Regions from separate parts of the Homo sapiens genome. Here regions 2 and 3 are each linked to region 1. Evidence: promoter capture Hi-C in 16 types of primary human blood cells and fetal thymus (Javierre and others, 2016). All regions are on one chromosome and are shown on one strand. Each heading gives the region's core, a stretch centred on a gene start or on the middle of the fragment in contact. The rest is flanking DNA. Distances are from core to core; before and after follow the strand shown. Region 1 holds the start of NCOA5 (nuclear receptor coactivator 5). Region 2 has its middle 5.8 kb from the start of PCIF1. Region 3 holds the start of CDH22 (cadherin 22).

What was found. The method cuts DNA at HindIII sites, captures the fragments that hold promoters and counts their contacts. A CHiCAGO score of 5 or more calls a contact.
Region 2: a fragment that was not itself captured here is called in contact with the fragment with the promoter of NCOA5 in region 1 in 1 of 17 cell types (fetal thymus); the score reaches 5.3 in fetal thymus.
Region 3: a contact is called between the fragment with the promoter of CDH22 here and the fragment with the promoter of NCOA5 in region 1, in 4 of 17 cell types (erythroblasts, endothelial precursors, neutrophils and 1 more). The highest score is 7.1, in erythroblasts.

The regions. Positions count from the first base shown.
Region 1 is chr20:46,087,641-46,091,984 of GRCh38, reverse strand. It overlaps NCOA5 (nuclear receptor coactivator 5), which reads left to right and starts at 2,023. Exons shown (of 8, transcript NM_020967.3): 1 at 2,023-2,168. RefSeq lists enhancers at 1,860-1,909, 1,923-2,736, 2,590-2,799, 2,737-3,551 and a silencer at 2,070-2,419. The HindIII fragment of the contact is 2,710 bases long and covers 734-3,443 here.
Region 2 is chr20:45,926,622-45,931,183 of GRCh38, reverse strand. No RefSeq gene overlaps it. Among named protein-coding and RNA genes, the nearest start is that of PCIF1, 5.8 kb to the left of the region's middle. RefSeq lists an enhancer at 3,580-3,874. The HindIII fragment of the contact is 8,397 bases long and covers 1-4,562 here.
Region 3 is chr20:46,306,814-46,310,970 of GRCh38, reverse strand. It overlaps CDH22 (cadherin 22), which reads left to right and starts at 2,473. Exons shown (of 12, transcript NM_021248.3): 1 at 2,473-2,716. The HindIII fragment of the contact is 22,305 bases long and covers 1-4,157 here.

The DNA of each region.
Region 1 (4,344 bases), core at 774-3,273:
AAGTCTCTCACGCCTGGGGCCAGCAGGGCGGGCCGGCCGCTCCGAGTGTGGGGCCCGCCAGGCCCACGCCCACCTGGAACTCTAGCTGGCCCGCAAGCGCCGCGCGCAGCCCCGGTTCCCGCCCGTGCCTCTCCCTCCACACCTCCCCGAAAGCGGAGGGAGCCGGCTCCGGCCTCGGCCAGCCCAGAGAAGGACTTCCATGGTGCAGCGGCGGGCTGAAGGGCTCTTCAAGCGCGGCCAGAATGGGCGCCGAGGCCGAGGAGGCACCGAGAGTGAGCAAGGGCTGTGAGGGCTGCCAGCACGCTGTCACCTCTCAATAGGGTTGTGAGGATTAAATGAGATGATATGTGTAAAGGATTCAGCACATGGTAGGCACACAATAGATGTTACCTATTATGTAAAGCAAACATCTAAATAAGAAGTCACCAAGTCCTGAGCACCTGCCTCCCTACAAGAATCTTTCTTCATAAAATTAACTTGCTCCTCTATCAAAAATACTCATCAAACACTATATATTATCGTTTGTTTATTGCTCATATTCCCTAATAGGCCATGAGCTCCCTAAGCACAAGGATTTTGTCTACCTTACTCTCTACTCTCCACAAAATCAAGTGCATAAAAAACACTCATTAAACACTTAATACACAAGTCACTGAATACATCTTTTGGCTAAAGTCCACTACCCACTTGAGGTACTGCCACTCACCTCTAAACCAACATTTTTCCCTAAGCTTGGTTATCTTAATCATCTAATTAATATGATTCTTCTTAAATTTTCATAGTATTAGGATCTATATTGGAGGGAAAGGAATAAGAATGAACATTTGTTGGGTATCCATTATTTGACAGACTTTATGTCTTCATTTCTAATTTCATACAGTCTTATAAAGTGGGAATTGGAATAACCCACTTTGCCTGTGAGTAAACTAAAGTTCTAGTTACAACCATTGAGAATCCCTATTTCTTTCCATCACAGCGTTTATCTCAGTTTGCAATTACACACTCAAGTGTGATTATTCGTCTAATGCTTTCACCAGACTGTAATCTCAAAGATAGCAGAAAAGGGTCTGCATTTGCTCATAACAGCGCCTAACAAGCAGGCATATAATAAGTATAGGGCTACATAGTAGGTATGTAATAAACATTCAGTGAATAAATGAGTGGAGTGAGCATAGGGGTAGATGTCAAAGAAATCTGGCTTCTTGTAGTGTTTAAATTCCGCAGGCACCATTTTTTCTTAGTAGGCAATATTCGCAAGGAGAAGAACTAGACCCCATGGAGTCTGAGGCGTTTCCAACACTAATAAAAGAGTACCTGATTAATATAGCTATGGCTGTGATTAATAGAGTGCATTTACTATTGTGTGAGCAAATCCCATTCCCTGTGACAAATGTATTCTATACATGAAATGAACAGTACAACATTTTACAGGCTTCACGGTCAACAGTTACATTCCGGGAAATTTTTGACGTTGAACGAATATTCCAAGAATAAATAACTCAAGAAGAACCTGTGACTATATCTCCAGAAACCTTTTGCCGCTTGTCAGTGAAACTAATAGAGTACAGAGCCTATTTAAATGTAAATTTAAATACAACATTTTCTCCACCTTTCTGCTCTCTTTGTTCCTTGTGGTCCGGAGGTTACAGGACTATATATATTCTCCAATACACACGTGTATAGGGATTTGGGGTTTTTGCTTTCAGTTTTATGCAAGACTAAATCAAGGTATTTGGGGATTTGAATGTTCTGTTCCCACAGTTAGGGAGGAGGGAATGTGCTCTGAAAACAGAAAAAAAGTACTCTGGGGCGGGGGCTGAGGCGACCACCGTGGGGCCCATCCTCAGCCTAGGACGCTGTTGCTAGGCAACTCCCTGCGTTCTCAACTCCCGCCCGAGAGCCACTTCCCGGGCCCTCATTGCCAAGGAGATCGACGCCCCAACTCAGCCCTGCCGTAAACACGCGCGGTCTTGCGACAGTGCCGCGCCTGCCGCTACGTGCGCGCCCTCTGCCCCCATCTCCACTCTCCGCCCGGCCGCCATTGCCTCGTGCCCGCGCCGGTCGGTTGGTGGCGCCTTTGTCCTACGGCGGGCAGGTGGGCCGACGCGGAGGCGGCAGCGGCGGGCCTGAGGCGAAGGAGCGGCCGGGAGCCCGCCGCGCTGGTAGCGGTGAGTGCCGGGAAGCGCTGGCCGTCAGCCGAGGCGTGGGGCTGACGGGCAGGCCGTTGTGGGGGGCCTGGCCGGACGGGGAGGCTGAGGCGGGAAGGCCCACTCGACGCGCGGCCACGGTCTCGGCTCCTCTCCGGGTGCGCGCGGTGCTGCGCATGCCCGGTGCGGGGCGCGGCCGCCTCCGGCTCCCGTCAGGCCCAGGCCCGGCCGGCCGAGGCGGCCTACGGTTCTCTGTGGTGGACGCAGGTCGGCGGCGTCGCATCGCAGCCGCCTGTCTGTGCACGAACGGTCGGTCACTAGGAGTCCTCAAGGCTTCTCTGGTTGAGCCGCACATCCCGCACCCCCTGTCGAAACGGTGGAGTCGCTCGCCCGCGGGTCCTCAGCGAGTCAGTGGCGCAGTCGGGATTCGAACCGGGCCCAAGGCGTCCCGTGGCACCGGGCGTTCTCCAGGCGTGCAGCGCCGAGCGGTGTACTGAGCGCTGTCCCCCGCCACCGTCTCGCGGCCCCTGACCGCATTCTCGGGGTGTCTCCTTGTGGTGTGACACCCCACGCGTTTTGTAGGCGCGGACCTCGGGCCCAGAGAACGGGGAGAGGAACTGTTCCCGGGTTTACCACGTAGCTCAGCGCCAGCGTCCGATCCGGCCGGCTTTCCAAGCTCCCGGCGCGGGGCACTGTCCGCTCCCCGCCAGCGGGCGAGGGGCTTCTCTTAGGACGGCGTTGCACACGTTTCAGTCTCGCGTTGCACCTTTATGTCCGTGGACCATCTGTACTGCTATTTACCAAATGTTACATTTTTTAAAAAATTCAAACTGACTCTTTTTTTCTCCTTAAATATATTTAAGGCGGCAACTTCAATCACAAACCGGGTACTGGAAAGCCAGTTATTTTTCTAATGCTTATAAAAAAAATAAATATCTGTCTGTTGAAATAAACAGTGCGTCCTTGTTCCTCCTGAAATTATTCTGCGTTCCACACTTTGGGAAACGCTGCCCGAGGAGTAGCTGATTAATTGTGGTTCTTCTGGCTTGCACTCTGTGCACAGAATTTTTCCTGAGGCAAAGCAGATTCTATGAATGCCCTGGGCTCTTCAGGGATAATGTAACAGCTTTCTTGTAAACTGTTCTCTTTGTTGACTTAAAAGTGTTAGTCCCAGGGAACTGCAAGAACTGTGTTCACTCAGGTGCACCCGGTGTGCCTGAATTTTCTTACAGCGTTGTGATGTCGTAGCCCCCTGTTGGCTCATAAAAAGATGTTTCTACAAATGCTGGGGAAGCTTTTGTGAGTTTTGACAACTCTTAATTTAATGTTTTCTCTATGAGTCAGTCTGGGTGTGAAAACTAACTTTGTGTCTACTTTTTGCAACCAGTAAAGCCCATGCTTTGCATTGTGGATATTAGAAATCACTTGGCTATTTGTTAACATCCATTTCTTCCTTTATTGTGATTTCTTTGCCTTTCTTTGAGCTCATCTGTCACTCTTCAGATTGCCTTTGAAACCTCTGACACTTCTCTTAACCTAAAACTTAGAAACACTGATTTTCCTTGTAGAATGTCCCAGCGAATCCATATTGCAAGGCTCATTGGAAGGAGTTTTTCTAGATTCAGTTTGCTCAATGTTGCATACCTGTGAACACCACAAGTTTAAAGGAGGCATTGACAGATTAACTTACTTGTAAGTTAATAGTGTGTTCATAAGATCTGTTTATGTGAATGTAAGAGCAGATTTAATTTAAATCATTGACAGGAAAGTCCCATAAGTCAGTTCAGGCTTATTCAAGTTTTCTTCCCCTCCCCTCAAAGGCTGTGTAAAAAAATATATATATATGTATATGTATATATATGTGTGTGTGTGTATGTATCTCTCCCCCTGTTAAAAACATGTTTCTTTGGGGTTACCTTGGTATGATCACAATGTAGAATTTACGTAAGGCTAAGGTCATTTTCTTCACATTTCTGAGAATTTGATTTAAGCCCGGCGTCCGTTTCAGAACTTCAGCAAATGGAAACTCATCTACCAGTGCTTGAGAGCTAAGAAAAAACAACTTGTTTGTTTTGGTTTTGTTTTTGTTTTTTCTGAGACAGAGCTTCACTCTTGTTGCCCAGGCTGGAGTGCAGTGGTGCGATCTTGGCCCCCGGGTTCAAGCAATTCTCCTGCCTCAGTCTCCTAAGTAGCTGGG
Region 2 (4,562 bases), core at 331-2,830, 160 kb after region 1:
TGAGCCACCACACACAGCCCAATTTTGTTTTGTTTTTTGAAAAGGAGTCTTGCTCTGTCGCCCAGGCTAGCGTGCAGTGGCGCGATCTCGGTTCACTGCAACCTCTGCCTCCCAGGTTCAAGTGATTCTTCTGCCTCAGCCTCCCGAGTAGCTGAGATTACAGGTGCCCGCCACCATGCCCGACTAGTTTTTTTTTTTTTTTTTTTTTTTTTTTTTGTATTTTTAGTATAGACGGGATTTCACCACGTTGGCCAGGCTGGTCTCGAACTCCTGACCTCAGGTGATCCACCCACCTCAGCCTCCCAAAGACAAATTTTTAAAACCTTTTTATTGTTAAGAATAGCATATGGGGCTGGGTGTGGTGGCTCACACCTGTAATCCCAGCACTTTATCCCAGGAGGCCTAAGCGGGCAGATCATGAGGTCAGGAGATCGAGTCCATCCTGACCAACATGGTGAAACCCCATCTCTACTAAAATACAAAAAATTAGCCGGGCACGGTGGCACGCGCCTGTAGTTCCAGCTACTCCGGAGGCTGAGGCAGGGACACCACTTGAACCTGGGAGGCAGAAGCTGCAGTGAGCCAAGATCGCACCACTGCACTCTAGCCTGGTGACAGAGCAAGACTCCGTCTCAAAAAAAAAAAAAAAATAGTGTATGATAGACTGGCACAGTAGCTCATGCCTGTAATCACCAACACTTTGGGAGGCCAAAGTGGGAGGATACCTTGAGGTCAGGAGTTAAGAGACCAGCCTGGGCAATGTAGCAAGACCCTGTCTCTGAAAAATGTTTTAAATAAAATTAGCCGGGCATGGTGGCATGGGCCTGTAATTCCAGCCACTTGGGAGTCTGAGGTGGGAGGATCACTTGAGCCCTGGACGTCGAAGCTGCAGTTAGCTGCACTCCAGCCTGGGCGACAGAGACCGTGTCTTAAACATAGCTGGGCGCAGTGGCTCATGCCTGTAATTCTAGCACTTTGGGAGGTGGAGGTGGGTGGATTGCTTGAGTCCAGGAGTTTAAGACCAGCCTGGGCAACATGGTGAAACCTGCGTCTCTACAAAAAACACAAAAATTAGCCAGGTGCGGAAGCACACACCTGTAGTCCCAGCTACTTAGGGGGCTGAGGTGGGAGGATCACTTGAGCCCAGGCGGTCAAAACTGCAGAGAGCTATGATCATGCCACTGCACTCCAGCCTGGGCAACAGAGCAAGACCCTGTCTCAAAAAAATGTATACAAAATAGACTGGGCATGGTGGCTCACGCCCGTAATCCCAGTACTTTGGGAGGCCGAGGCGGGTAGATCACAAGGTCAGGAGTTTGAGACCAGCCTGGCCAACATAGTGAAACATCGTCTCTACTAAAAATACAAAAAAATTAGCTGGGTGTGGTGGTGCATGCCTATAGTCCCAGCTACTCAGAAGGCTGAGGCAGGAGAATCGCTTGAACCTGGGAGGCAGAGGTTCGATGAGCCGAGATCAGACCACTGCACTCCAGCCTGGGCAACAGAGCGAGACTCCGTCTCAAGAAAAAAAAAAAAAAAAAGAATAGCACACATGGAAAAGTGCACAAAACATAAATGTAAAACCTAATGATTTATCAAAAAGTGAGCCTGGGTTAGCATCACCCATGCCATGGTACTGAACAGTCAAGCAGAAGACCTCTGCAGGGTAATTGGTGTTCCAACTACTTTTGTGATAATCGCTTCCTTGCTTTTGGAGTTGTACCACCTGAGAATGTGTCCCTAAACACTGTAGTTTCGTTTTGTCTGTTCCTTGAACTTTATGTAAATTGAATTATACAGTATTATTTTGTGTCTGCCTTCTTTTGCACAAGAATACACTTGCAAAACTCCTTTATGTTGTTTCATATAGCTGTGGTGAGTTCATTTTCATTGCTGTTTTTTTGTTTTCCACTGTATGTTTATCTACTCTATTGTTAAGGGATATAAGTGAAGCCTCCCACCTGCCATACCTCTCAATTTCTTTTCTAAAAATTATTTTTATTTTTATTTATTTTTTTAGACAGAGTCTCGCTCTGTCGCCCAGGCTGGAGTGCAGTAGCGCGATCTCAGCTTGCTGCAACCTCTGCCTCCTGGGTTCAAGTGATTCTTCTGCCTCAGCCTCCCAAGTAGCTGGGATTACAGGCACCCGCCACAACACCTGGCTAATTTTTGTATTTTCAGTAGAGACAGGGTTTCTGCATGTTGGCCAGGCTGGTCTCGAACTCCTGACCTCAAGTGATCTGCCCGCCTCGGCCTCCCAAAGTGCTGGGATTACAGGCATCAGCCACCGTGCCTGGCTTTATTTATTTGTTTATTGAGTCTGGCTCTGTCACATGGGCTGGAGTGCCATGGCACAATATCAGCTCACTGCAGCCTCCGCCTCCCAAGTTCCAGCAATTCTCCTGCCTCAGCCTCCCAGGTAGCTGGGATTACAGGCACACGCCACCACGCCTGGCTAATTTTTGTATTTTTAGTAGAGACAGGGTTTCACCGTGTTGGCCAGGATGATCTTGAACTCCTGACCTCAGGCGATCCACCTGCCTCTGCCTCCCAAAGTGCTAAGATTATAGGTGTGAGCCACCATGCCCAGTCTCTCTCTCTCTCTCTTTTTTTTTTTAACTAGAGATGGGGTCAGTATGTTGCCAAGACTATCTCTAACTTCTGGGCTGAAGCAATTCTCCCACCTCAGCTTCCTAAAGTGCTAGGATTACAGGTGTGAGCCACTGTGCTTGGCCATACCTGTTAATTTTCAAAGTGGCCTTCTGATCCTCCAGCCTTGCTTCTCTTCTAGTTCATAATCCACCAAGGAGCCACGGGGATCTGGCCATATAGCAAATCTCATCAAGTCACTCTGGGCTTAAAGCTCTTGAATGTCTCCCCATTGACTACGGGACAAAATCCCAAACCCTTAATTTGGCCTACAAAACCAGAATTATAATGAGCTACCATGGCAGAATATTTACTATGCACAACGTCAAGCACTTTACACACATTCATTTTATTCATGATCTGGACCTTCAAACCATCTCTTCTTGATCCAGTCCCAGCTACCATGAACTACTTCATAATTTCCCTAAATGTGCCAGGTTCTTTCATGACCCTGATCCTTTGTGTTTTTGTTTATTTCTTTCTTTGTTTTGTTCGTTTTTGAGCCAGAGTCTCCATTTGTATCCAGGCTCACTGTAGCCTTGACCTCCTAGGCTCAAGTGATCCTCTTACCTCAGCCCCCTAAGTAGCTGGGACTGCAGGAGCACACCACCACCACACCTGGCTCATTAAATTTTTTTTTTTTTTGTAGAGACAAGATCTCACTATGTTGCCCAGGCTGGTCTCAAACTCCTAGCCTCAAGGAATATTCCTGCTTCAGCCTCCCAAAGTGTTGGGATTTCAGGCATGAGCCACCGTGTCCAGCTCCTGAGTCTCTGCATATGCTGTTTGCCCTTACTCTTCTTCCCCTCTTGACCTAATTCAGCCTTCGAGTCTTAGCCTAGATGTCGCCTCCACCAGGCAGCCTTCCCTGAACTTCCTTCTACCCCGGCTAGGACAGGTTCCCTCTCTTGTACTACCACAATGGTCTAAGCTCATAATGTTTGTCAATTTTCCTCATCCACTAGGCTGTGCGCTGCTTAAGGGTGGGGCCTGGGGCTTATTCACCCTTGTAACCCCATGCTCAGTACTGTGCCTGACCCTCTGTAAATATTTGATGACCATGAACAGACCACTCTGGGTTGAAGTCTAGGTGGCTTTTTCAGGTAGCCCGTTTATTTATTTATTTTTTGAGACAGGATCTCCCTCTGTCGCACAGGCTGGAATGCAGTGGTGTGATCTTGGCTCACTGTAACCTCTGCCTCCAGGATTCAAGCGATTCTCCTGCCTCAGCCTCCGGAGTAGCTGTGACTAAAGGCACACATCACCAGGCCCAGCTAATTTTTGTGTTTTTAGTAGAGATGGGGGTTTCACCGTGTTGACCAGGCTGGCCTCGAACTCCTGACCTCAAGCAATCTGCCTGCCTCGGCCTCCCAAAGTGGTGGGATTACAGGCGTGAGGCACTGTGCCTGGCCAGGTATCCCCGTTTCTATTCCAGGCTCTGGTTTCTGTGGTGGGAACACCAAGGCAGCACCCTGTGGGCTGCCTGCTGTGGCCGAGTCTCTGTCAGTAGCCTGGAGTCTTTTATTCCCAATATAGGGATGAGCAGTTGAGCAAAGATCCTAAGGCTTTCCATTTCTCCAGCTACTTTTCTGAACTAAGAAGCCTGGGTAGACAATAGGTCTGGGCTGAGAGAGGTGGTTGGAATAAGCTGGGCTCCTCTCCCTGGCACCAGGGCCGGCTGCATAGATTTAGAAAGGCCCATGCTTACTGGGTGTGGAGGCTCATGCCTGTAATCCCAGCACTTTGGGATGCCAAAGTGGGAGGATTGCTTGTGGCCAAAAGTTCAAGACCAGCATGTGCAACATAGAACCCCATCTCTACATAAAATAATAATAGTAATAATTAGCTGGGCATAGTAGGTGCTCCTGCAGTCCTAGCTACTTGGGAGGCTGACGCAGGGGGTGATTGCTTGA
Region 3 (4,157 bases), core at 1,224-3,723, 220 kb before region 1:
TTCACATCAATGCTGGGGGAAGTGGCTTGCCCACGTGTCACACAGTCTGCATGGGGCAGAACTGCTCTCAGAGCCCAGGCCTGCCCAGTTCTTCCTCTGTCACACTACACTGCCTCTTGCTGCCCCTGCCACACTGCAGCAGGAGTCCCAGCTTACCTTCTCCCAGACCAGAGTGAGAGGTCTGACCCAGGCCCAATGCGTCAACCTGATCTCTCTACTTGCCGTCTGAATGATCTTGCTATTTCAACACCGTGTCTCAGTTTCCTCATTTGTAAAATGGGCTAATACTAGTATCTGATTATTGTGAGGACTTAAAAGCAGAACTATGGCACACAGCAAGTGCTCAATAAACATTCAATGTGTTCTCAGAGCCTAGCCATAGTGCTCACAACAGAGTGGACACTCAGAGAAAGTTTGTTGAAGGAAGGAAGAATTGGAAATAACGGTAGAATGAGCCTGAAAATAGGAAACATTGGGATAGGAAAACCTGAGGGTCTAATAAAGAGTCATGGGGAGCTGGGTGCAGCAGCACATGCCTGGTGTCCCAGTTACTTGAGAGGCTGAGGCAGAATGATCACCTGAGTCCAGGAATCCAGCCTGGACAACATAGTGAGACCCCCATCTCAAAAAAAAATAAAAATAAAAGAGAGAGAAGAGAGAGACCAGAGCAAAAGAGAAAGATGTGACAACAGTTCATTCAATAACATTTATTGAGCACCTACTGTGTGCATGCAGATGTGACAGCAACAGTGTCCCAGACCAAAACAACCTGTGGACAACTAAGTAGGTCTGACTCCAGAGATGAACAGCACACACCAGAGCCTGGAGGAAGAGGCAAAGAAGGAATGGGAACTGGAGCAAACAGCAAAAGTGAGTCAGAGCGGGAGGAGAGAACCAAAAGTGAAGAGATGCACCTGGAAGGCTGGCCTCTGGTCTCTGAAAGCATGAAAGAGTGGAGGCTAAGAATAGAGAGGAGAGGGGAAGAGAGAGATGGAGAAAAGGAAGGCGATAGAAAGGCAAGGCTGGAAGAGATCAATGAAGGGAAATAAACCAAGAGAAGGACGTAGGGGAGGGAACAGACTGGCACAGTGGAGAATACATCTCAAAATAAATAAATGAATGATGGAGTTTAGTAGGAGGGGCCAGAGGGGCAGCCAGCAGGAGAGGTGATTCCAATCATCAGCAAGACGGACTAGGGTGTGGAGATGGAGATGGAAATTGGGGAAGGAGGCGAGGAGGAGAGAAGGATAGGGGCGAGGTAGAGCTGGGGGTCCTGGAGGGCCCTGCCCCCTCTTTGCCATGAACTTCAGCAGCTGCTTGTGGGTGATTAAATGGCTGGTCATTGGCAGCTTGGCGGGACAGAGGTCTGCAGCTGTCCAGTCTCCTGTTATCCTTCACTCACCTATCTGGAAGCCATGGGGAATAGGGGGGCGGGCAACTCCTAAGGGGACCTACAACCCAAGACAAAGGGTGGGTCTATGGGAGTCACTGGTCCTATCCTACCATCAACGACCTCATATTGGGAACTCAGGAGTGGGGTGGGAGGGTCTCCTCCATTAGGCCTCATCCCAGAGAGATGAAGTAGTAAGGAGAGCCAGGCAGCCAGGAGAAAGAAACAGGGCCAGGTGGAAAAAACATCAGGGAGCAGACCAGCCGGATTTTTAAAAGAACGGAAAACCCAACCAGCAAGGAGTTTCTGGGCAGTGGGAAGATTTTATTGGGAGACTTCTCCAGGTCAAGGTGGCACCAAGTTAAGGATGGAGGTGTCTTGTTTTGCCTGCTTACTTTGTTGGTTGCAAGGATGTCCAGCGGGACTCTCCAGAGGAAAAGCCCACAAGTTTCTCTCCCGGGGACACCCGACCTCCCACCTGCCTGGAGACTCAGCCCTGGGCACCTGGTCGGTGTCCACCTCAATGCACAGTGACTGTTTCTGAACTGGCAGATCTGGTCTGTGCAAGGTGCCTTTCTGGGCAGCAAGCCGGGGCGGCCACTGTTCGAGAAGCCTGCTCCTACCCTGGCCTGCGCCCCTGCTCCTCTGAAGGCGGCCTCCCGCAGTAGTCAGGGGGCGGAAATGGGAAGCCCTATTCGCAGTAAAATCAGGTGGGGAAATAGGCTCTGGTCTCAAACTGCGGCCACCTGGGGAGCTGCCAGGCGAGGAGGTAGATGGTCCCCCTCCTGGGGGCGCTCCCTTCGCGCGGATCTGGGGTTGGAGGAGGGAGGGGCACTGTCCCCTGGGGGGTTTCCTGGGACTGGGCCGCCCGAGAGAGGGAAAGGCTGTCCCCTCCTGGTGTAGGAGGGGCGCGATCCGGGGGGCGGGGGCTGGGGTTCCCCGGCTGCGGGGGTCCGGGCCGGCGGCCGCCTGCGGCTTGGCGCTGCGCGGCTCCTGCCCGGCGGGCCCTGCATTCTCCGAGTCTCCACCAGAGGCTGCGGGAGGAAGGAAGGGATCCGTCCCTTGCACACTTCCCCCCAGTCAGACACGCACACTCCCTCGCTCCCGCTCGCTCGCTCACTCCCTCGCTCTCTCGCTCTCTCGCTCTCTCGCTCACACACACGCGCGCACACGCCGCCGCGGCTCCCCCTCTCGCTCCCGCTCTCCCTCCGGCTCCTGCGGGCGGCCGCGGGGCTCCGGACTCGCCCGCTGCCCGCGCCGGGGCTCCCGCCCCACGCAGCGTCCCGAGGCGGCAGGACTAGGGGGAGCCCCGGGCCGCTCCCCGAGGTAAGAGCGCGGGGTGCCGCGGGAGGAGCGGCCGGATCGCCGCCGAGGGGAGGCTGCCCGGCAGGGAGGGAGCCCCCTGGCCGGCGGGAGCGGCCGGGCAGGCGGCGCGGGGGGCGAGCCTCCAGCCGCAGGAGGAGCCGGGGTGCCTGCGCCCGGCCCTGCGCGCCCCCTCCTCTCGGCCGGGAGGGCGGGGAGGGAGTTTCCCACGTCCAAACTTTCCCCGGCGCGGAGCCGAGCCGCCTCTCGGCCCGAAGCCCGCAGCTCCCACCCGTCCCCACAACCTCGTCCGCCGCGCGCCCGGGAGCCTCCGGGACCCCCGCGGGCCGAGGGGTGGCAGCGCCAGGGGCCGAGCCGGCGCGCCAAAAGGGGCTGGGAAGGTGGCGCACAGCCCTGACGCGAGGGCTGGGACCCAGGCGTTCCCGGTCCCCCAACCCTGCTAGCGGGGCTCGGCTCCCCGGCCCCTCCCAGAGGCGGGGTCCGGGGCCGGGAAAATACCGCACGGCGCGAGCGTGTGCGCGCGGTGTGTGTGTGCGAGGTCGTGCCGCGTCCGGGGACACCCGGAGGCTGACTCCAGCCGCGGCGACACGCACGGTTCTGGTCCCCTCTGAGCCGGGGAGGCGGCCCACAGGGACCCCTGCCGGCCCCACCGGCGCGACCCCCCCTGCCCTATGGCCGTCGGGCGGGCTGGCGGTGAGCGAGAGCCAGCGCTGCTCTCTTCCTTAGGACCCGACTCCGGAGACACCGTCCCCGCTGGGGAAGAAGGACGGGGCCCCCGACAGCCTAACGTCCAAAGAGAGCGCCACTTAGGGCTAACCCTCGGGGGCCGCGGCGTTTACTGTGAAGAGTGGACTGCGTGGGCGCGCGGGGTGCCGGGCAGCCCTGGGTGGGCACAGTGTGGACCCGTCTCGCTCGCGCCTCCCCGCTGCCTCTTCTCTGGCAACGTCGGGCCCTGTCCCAGGCGGGGCTGCAGAGGGTAGGGCTGATCCAGGATCCCCCGAGGTCTCCCCGAGGTGCAGGGCACCCCCTTGTGGCGGGCAGAGAAGCTGCTGTTTGAAGCTGCTCAGGTCTTCCGAGGTGCTCGCTCCTTGGAACCTCTTCTCTCCAAACCCTTCGGGCGTCGCCAGGGTTGCGCATGCCAGCTTCTTTTTCCGTGGGGCTGATTCCAGCACTCCCCAGGTTTCTGGGGCTGGCCGAGGTGCCCCCAGCACAGGCAGCGGCTCATTTGAGGGCTTTGGCTGTTGCCAGCTCTCTCTCCCTCTCCACCCAGGTTCAGGATCTCATCCTCTTCTCCCACTGGTCAGCGCCAATACCCTATATCAGCATCACCACTGCCCTAGGGCCCAAAGGCTCCTCCCTAACCACCGCGACTCTCTGTCCTTCATTTGTATCCCGTATATGTGTCCATCAGTGCCCACTCCGTCCCCCTCAGTTGCCCCTAGTC